Regions from separate parts of the Homo sapiens genome. Here region 1 is linked to region 2. The links are contacts of gene promoters, found by promoter capture Hi-C in human tissues and cell types (Jung and others, 2019). All regions are on one chromosome and are shown on one strand. The core of a region is centred on a gene start or on the middle of the fragment in contact, and the rest is flanking DNA. Distances in the headings are between cores, read along the strand shown. Region 1 has its middle 37 kb from the start of CORO1C. Region 2 holds the start of TMEM119 (transmembrane protein 119).

Evidence for each region. The method cuts DNA at HindIII sites, captures the fragments that hold promoters and counts their contacts. A contact is called where the count stands out against the background at its distance.
Region 1: a contact is called between a fragment that was not itself captured here and the fragment with the promoter of TMEM119 in region 2, in 2 of the 25 tissues and cell types used here (bladder and spleen).

What each region holds. Positions count from the first base shown.
Region 1 is chr12:108,766,788-108,770,106 of GRCh38, reverse strand. No RefSeq gene overlaps it. Among named protein-coding and RNA genes, the nearest start is that of CORO1C, 37 kb to the right of the region's middle. RefSeq lists a silencer at 1,288-1,357. The HindIII fragment of the contact is 6,877 bases long and covers 1-3,319 here.
Region 2 is chr12:108,596,252-108,599,701 of GRCh38, reverse strand. TMEM119 (transmembrane protein 119) reads left to right here and starts at 1,618. Exons shown (of 2, transcript NM_181724.3): 1 at 1,618-1,732. The HindIII fragment of the contact is 8,836 bases long and covers 1-3,450 here.

The DNA of each region.
Region 1 (3,319 bases), core at 381-2,880, 170 kb before region 2:
TGCTTCCTGTACCGTGGGGCTGGTGGCCTCATAAGGTTGTTAGGAAGCAGGTGAAGCATGAAGCATACAGTAAGTGCTCCATAAATGTACCGGTCATTGCTGCCCCTCTGACTTGTTGCAGTATAGCACCTGTCTTCTACAGATGGGGAAACTGAGGCCCAGAGAGAGGCAGTTACTTGTCCAAGGTCACAGAGCCTGTCTCTTGCTGGTTCCAGCTTCGGCCTTAGCCATTCTCCCTGCTCAACCCAAAGCTCAGCAGGGATGGGCTCCTGGGTGGACCAGGCAGGGGGTTCCCTTGGGCTGAGGGGGCAGGAAGGTAGGGGTGGAGGAAGGGTTCAACAAAAACAGCCCCAGCTGGGGGCTGTGGCTCACGCCTGTAATCCCAGCACTTTGGGAGGCCGAGGCAGGCGGATCACTTGAGGTCAGGAGTTTGAGACCAGCCTGGCCAACATGGTGAAACCCCCTCTCTACTAGAAATCCAAAAAATGTCCGGGCATGCAGCACACCTATAATTCCAGCTACTCAGGAAGCTGAGGCAGGAGAATCACTTGAACTTGGGAGGCAGAGACTGCAGTGAGCCGAGATCACGCCGCTGCACAGCTCCACTGCACTCCAACCTGGGTGACAGAGTGAGACCCTGTTTCAAAACAAAACAAAACAAAACCAGAAACAGCCCCTTTGCTGCAGGCCTCCGGGATGCCAAACACTTTGGTTGTTTTCTTATTAATCCTGAAAACACTATTAAAATGGTATTATTCTTAGCATTCCCATTTTACAGATGAGAAAACTGAGGTTCAGAGAGTTGCCTAAGCACACAATGGGAAGAGGGAGGCTCTTGACCCCAGCCCCAGATCTGTCTGTTGAATGAAGGAAGAGATAGTGTCCCATTCAGGGGTGCACAGCGAGCTCTGTGGTTTGGTGAGTTCAGTCTGTCTCCCCGACCCCCAGATGACAGGTGAGAGGAGGACACAATGCCAGCAGCTCTTGGGCTTGGGATGTCATAGAAACTTCCAAAGAAAGGGGAAGAGAAAGCCCAGTCACCCTCGCCCCACCCCCACAGGTCGCAGAAGCGGCTCAGGGATGGCAAATGGGCGTGGAGGTGGCCTCCGCAGCCCCAGGGGGCAGGGCAGGGACGCTCTGTGCCAGATGGGGGTGCCAGGCGCTGCCTCCAGCGACCACGCCCACAAGGTGCTCTGCTGCCTGCCGGACCTCTGCGCAAGTGCCTTCGGGCCGATGCAGACGCCCACTGCGCCACTTCCCCCGGGCTCCGGGGACCCCCTCCATCCGCCCGGCCTAGCCCTGGAGGCGCGACGCCCCGTCGTGTACCGTCTGGAGGAGGTGGCGCGCTGCCTGCACCTCCTGGAGCTCTCCAGCTCCGAGGGTCCCCGCTGCAGGCCCGGAGTGTCTGCCGGCCTCCAGGTGCACAGGCTCCAGAGCGCCCCGCAGGGGACTCCGGGAGGCGCCTCTGCCTCCGATTCCCCTAGAGGGGACCGGCCAGTCCCAAGGTCCAACAGGAAGAAGGCAGAAAACCCCATCCGAAAAGGTGAGCGCCTTTCGGGGGCTTTCTTCCCTCCATTGGACCCACAGATTCTAGGCACAGTTATCCCGGGGGGCATCCGTGGGTCTGCATTCTCAGTATTGCTGTCCACTTGCCCTGTGGTTTCTGACAAACTCCTGGCCCTCTCTGACCCTCAGTTTCTTTATCTCTGCCACCAGAGATAAAGAGATTGGACTTTGGTTTTTCACTCTTAAAACTGAAGACAAGACCTCATTTCTGTGGGAGGAGGGCTCCACCTGTGGGATTATAAGGACAGCATCTGGGCCATACAAATCTTTTCCCTTTCCCTAAAAAAACTAGCTACGGAGCTACTTCTAGGGTTACAATATCTAACTCTTACAAGAATCCTCCCCGGGAAATGCTGTTACTCCATTTTATTGAAATGAAAACTGAGGCCGGGCACGATGGCTCACGCCTGTAATCCCAGCACTTTGGGAGGCCGAGGTGGGCGGATCACTTGAGGTTGGGAGTTTGTGATCAGCCTGGCCAACATGGTAAAACCCCGTCTCTACTAAAAATACAAACATTAGCCAGGCGTGGTGGAAGGCACCTGTAATTCCAGCTACTCTGCAGGCTGAGGCAGGAGAATCGCGTGAACCCAGGAGGTGGAAGTTGCAGTGAGCCGAGATCGTGCCATTGCACTCCAGCCTGGGAGACAGAACAAGACTCTTGTCTCAAAAACAACAACAACAACAACAAAAAACTGAGCTTATAGTGAGTGGGTTCAAGTTGCAGAAATGGGATTTGAACCTCCACCCTCCTTCCAGGCCTGTCTGACTTTAAAGCCCCGTGCTTTTTTCTGCTAATAATGCAGATCGTCTCCATGAAAGCCACACAGGCTGGATTCTCAGCAGGAATGGCCAGGGGTCCTACCTCTTGTCGGTGCCACCCATCAGCTCTCTGAGGCCACTGCCCTGAAGGATCTTCGGCGATCCCTGGGGAACACCTCTCAGCTGATGTGGACAGGGCATCACTGGTATAGCCTCATGCCATGACCCAAAGCTTCCAAATGGAACGGAGGAGGGCCCCCATCACAGAAGTCCAACAGGGACCCCTGGATTGGGCGTGAAAGAGTGAGAAGAAATGGGGGTTGTGTGGGGAATTGGGTGTGGGAGTGTTCCTACCAGACTAAAGAACTGATGGGCGAGGCCAGGTGCGGTGGCTCATGCCTGTAATCCCAGCACTTTGGGAGGCAGAGGTGGGCGGATCACAAGGTCAAGAGATGGAGACCATCCTGGCCACAATGTGAAACCCATCTCTACTAAAAATAGGAAAAAAAAAAATTAGCTGGGCGTGGTGGTGCAAGCCTGTAGTCCTAGCTACTTGGGAGGCTGAGGCAGGAGAATCACTTGGACCCGGGAGGCAGAGGTTGCAGTGAGCCGAGATCACACCACTGCACTCTAGCCTGGTGACAGAGCAAGACTCCATCTCAAAAAAAAAAAAAAAAAAAAGAAGAACTGGTGGGCCAGGTGTGGTGGCTCACCTCACACCTGTATCCCAGCACTTTGGGAGGCCGAGGCAGGCGGATCACTTGAGGTTCAGGAGTTCGAGACCAGCCTGGCCAACATGGGGAAACCCCATCTCTACTAAAAGTACAAAAATTAGCCAGGCGTGGTGGCAGGTGTCTGTAATCCCAGCTACTCGTGAGGCTGAGGCATGAGAATTGCTTGAACCCAGGAGGTGGAGGTTGCAGTGAGCTGAGATCGCGCCACTGCACTCTAGCCTGGGAGACAGAGTGAGACTCAGTCTCAAAAAACAAAA
Region 2 (3,450 bases), core at 369-2,868:
TGACCACCCGATGTCTGGTCTAAGACAGGTCAGGTAGGCCTGGAACACCCCTGGCCACCTTAAAGCGGGCACAGCTGCTACAACATGTCTGTGGGTGGCCACTTGCCCCTGGGACATGTGTGTGCATGAATGTGTCTGTGCGAGTATTGGTGGATGGTCCCCTGTTCCCTCGAAGATGCAGGGTTTGGGGTGATTTCCAGAGAAGATGGGAAAGTCTCTGATTTTATTTCCCAAGCAAATGACTGTCCCAGTTTTCTGGGGGTGAGCGAGGGCTGCTGGGACCATTGCAGGGAACAATGATAATCTAGGCTTGGTTCCTACCCAGAGAGCACGCACTCATCCTTCATGCACTCCCCTGTTCCAAACCCTCACTGGCTCCGTACTGCCTCCGACCTTCCGAGACTTTAGCCTGGCTCCTGTCAACATCTCTGACCCTTACTACATGATCCTCTCTTTGGTCCATGCTCCAGCCTAATCTAATTGCGGTGGCTTGTGCGTGGTGGCATTCCCAGCCACCATACCTTTACCCACGCTGGTCCTTCCATGCGGAATGCCTTTCCAGGGCCTGCTTTGCCCGCTTCTGCTCATACACAGGCATGCCCTCCAGGATGGCTTCCTACCTCTTTCCCTTGGGGGATTGATCTCTCTGTCTTGGGGTTCTCGGAGCCCTTGACCTGACCCCTTTCTGTTTGGCAAAAAAGTAATTTACCTCGGTGTCCTTCTCCCTGGTAGTCTGTGAGCTCCCCAAGGCTGGGCTGTGCCTGATTCACCTCTGGAACTTGCTTAGCACAGTGCGTGGCCTGCTGCAGGTGTTCATTGAGCACTTGCCGAATGAATGCATGAATGAATGAATGAATGAATGAATGCAAGGGGCTGCTAATCCACAGGACTCCTCAGGTCAGCCAGACGTCCCGGTTCCAAGGCCTGCCACTGACTCACCTCAGGACCCTGCTTGAACCATTAGAACTCACCCTGCCTCACTTTCCCCCTCTGTGAAATGGGGCTCCAACTCCTATTCAAGCTACTATCATTTGGGGGCATTGTGAGGCCACAGATCCCAGAACATCAGAGTCAGAGGTAGCCCAGAAAGCTTCCCACCCATCCCTACAAATGGGAAACTGAGGTCTGGAGAGGGAAGGGCAGAGTTGGGCTCCCTGTCTCAGGCTCGGACCCACCATCAGGCCTGTCTCTAAAACGAATCCCAGCTCCCACGCTGCACCCTGAGCCTGGAAGCCTGAGCCACACAAGGACGGGGAATTTTCCTTCCCACTTCCAGAGGCCTCTGAACCTCCCTGAGCTTGTCCCCTTTGGAGGGTATTGGGCAGCAGCGTGGGCAGAACCCCAGCTCACTGTCTGGGGGAGCGCTGCAGGACAGCCTTGTCTGTCTGTCTCAGCCTGCCCTGGGGACCCGAGGTCAGGGAGGAAGTGCCGCATCTGGTCTTCCCCAGAGCGAGAGTGTGAGCAAGGGTGGGATTGCGTGTGGCCCGAGAGTAGCCCCTCCCCTCCCCCTGTCCCCACCCCAAACCCTCTTAATGAAATCAAGCTGGCCCTGCGGCCCAGCCGGGGAGGGAGGAAGGAGGAGGGACGGGAGGAGGGACGGGAGGAGGGAGGGCGGGCAGGCGCCAGCCCAGAGCAGCCCCGGGCACCAGCACGGACTCTCTCTTCCAGCCCAGGTGCCCCCCACTCTCGCTCCATTCGGCGGGAGCACCCAGTCCTGTACGCCAAGGAACTGGTGAGTCCTGGGGTCCCCTCCTCTGTCCTGAGAGCCTGGAGCTATCTTGGAGCTTAGGGACTGGGGACTGTTGGAGCACTCTGGGGGGCCTCTCTAAGTGTGTGTGGGCTTTGAGTGTGTGTTTGGTGTTGTGTGCATGAGTGTGGTGGAATCTGAGTCCCGTGTGCGGTGCTGGGGTGGGCCAGGGTGGGCCGGAGTGTTGTGTGTGTGCGGCTGGGGCCTTGGTGTAGGGGGTGTGTTGCTTCCACTTTTCTGCAAGTGGATGCCAGGCTGTTGCTTCCAGGATCTGTGTGAGGGTGATGTGGACGGTATTGTCCTGTGTGCAGGGATCGGCTGTGTGTCAGGGGGTTGTGTATGTATATGTGTTGTGTGTCCGTGTGTGTTCTCTGTGTATTGTGTGCATGGGCCATGAGAGTGCTGTTGGGTGTCTCAGTGCTGTGTGAGTCGGTGTGCCTGTGTTGTGTGTCTTTATATTGTGTGTCCATGCTGCTCTGTGTGTGTGTGTGTGTGTGGAGGGGGATTGTGCCCCCAGGACCCCCCTCCCCATCCAGACCTCCAGGGCCCAGGTCCCTGTCCTTGGCTGGCCCTGGGGTCGGGGGCATGTGCAGTGCTCCAACCAGAACACCCCTCCCCCACAAGGCCACTGATTGAAGCCAGGTTTCCGTGGGCCGCCCCTCCCCCAAAGGCCACCAGTCTCTGGGTGGGGGTGGGGCAGCCCCCGGTCCCCTAGCTTCAAGTCTTGGGGCCCCCAGGCCTCAGGGGTGCATCTGCACTCCTCCACAGACTCAGGACCATCTTAGGGCATTTGCCACACTTACACACGGCCAGCCCTGCCTGACATGTCCCCAGGCAGGGAGTCCTGGGCAATCACGTGGTACCTGCTAATTGGCACCCACTGTGCACCAGGCATGGCCGCATCTTGTCCTAACAGCAGTCCAGGGAGGTGGCTCTTATCCCCATTGTACAGATATGGAAACCGAGGCTCAGAGAGGTGACATGCCCAGCCCAAGGACACATAGCCGGGAAGTGACCTCCTCTGGGATATACCAAGACAGGCTTCTCTGTCCAGGGCTCTGCTGGGCTCACCCCTGACTTTCTGTGTGACCTGGGCAGGCTGTTTCCAGTCTCTGGACCTGAGTTACCTCTAAGGTGAAGCAAGAGGCGTTGGGCCTGACCCCAGCTCCTAATGGCCTGTTAGATTCTGAGTCCTTGAAAAAATTAGGGTCCGGGGGGAGGTAGGCAGAATAATGACTTCAGAGCTGCCCAGAACAGTGCTTCATTCCACAGATGGGAAACTGAGGCCCAGAGAGGGCAGGGGCCGTCCAGGGCCACACAACCATCTTTTTTGAGGCTCTGCTGACTGCAGGTGGGGCTGGGTCCTCCATACGTTGCCCCCACCTTTCCCTGGAAGCCAGGAGGGGTTGTGGGGTGCAGGGGACTCTGAGAGTCAGGGTCTCAGCCTTAAAGAGCCAGTGGCAGTTTGTGTGTTCTCCTTTCTTGCCCTCTGCCTCTGACTTCGTGTGTGTGTGTGTGTGTGTGTTGTATGTATATGTGTGTGTAGGTGTATGTGTGCATGTGTGTGTATGTGTATGTGTGTGCATGTGTGTGTTTGGTTCTGCATTCCTTGGCGGCCAGAGCTAAAGAGGTTTCACTGAACGGGGTGAAAAGGTTGGTCTTTCACTGGGTGGCGGCCGGACCAGACAGTGAGCGCATGTTCC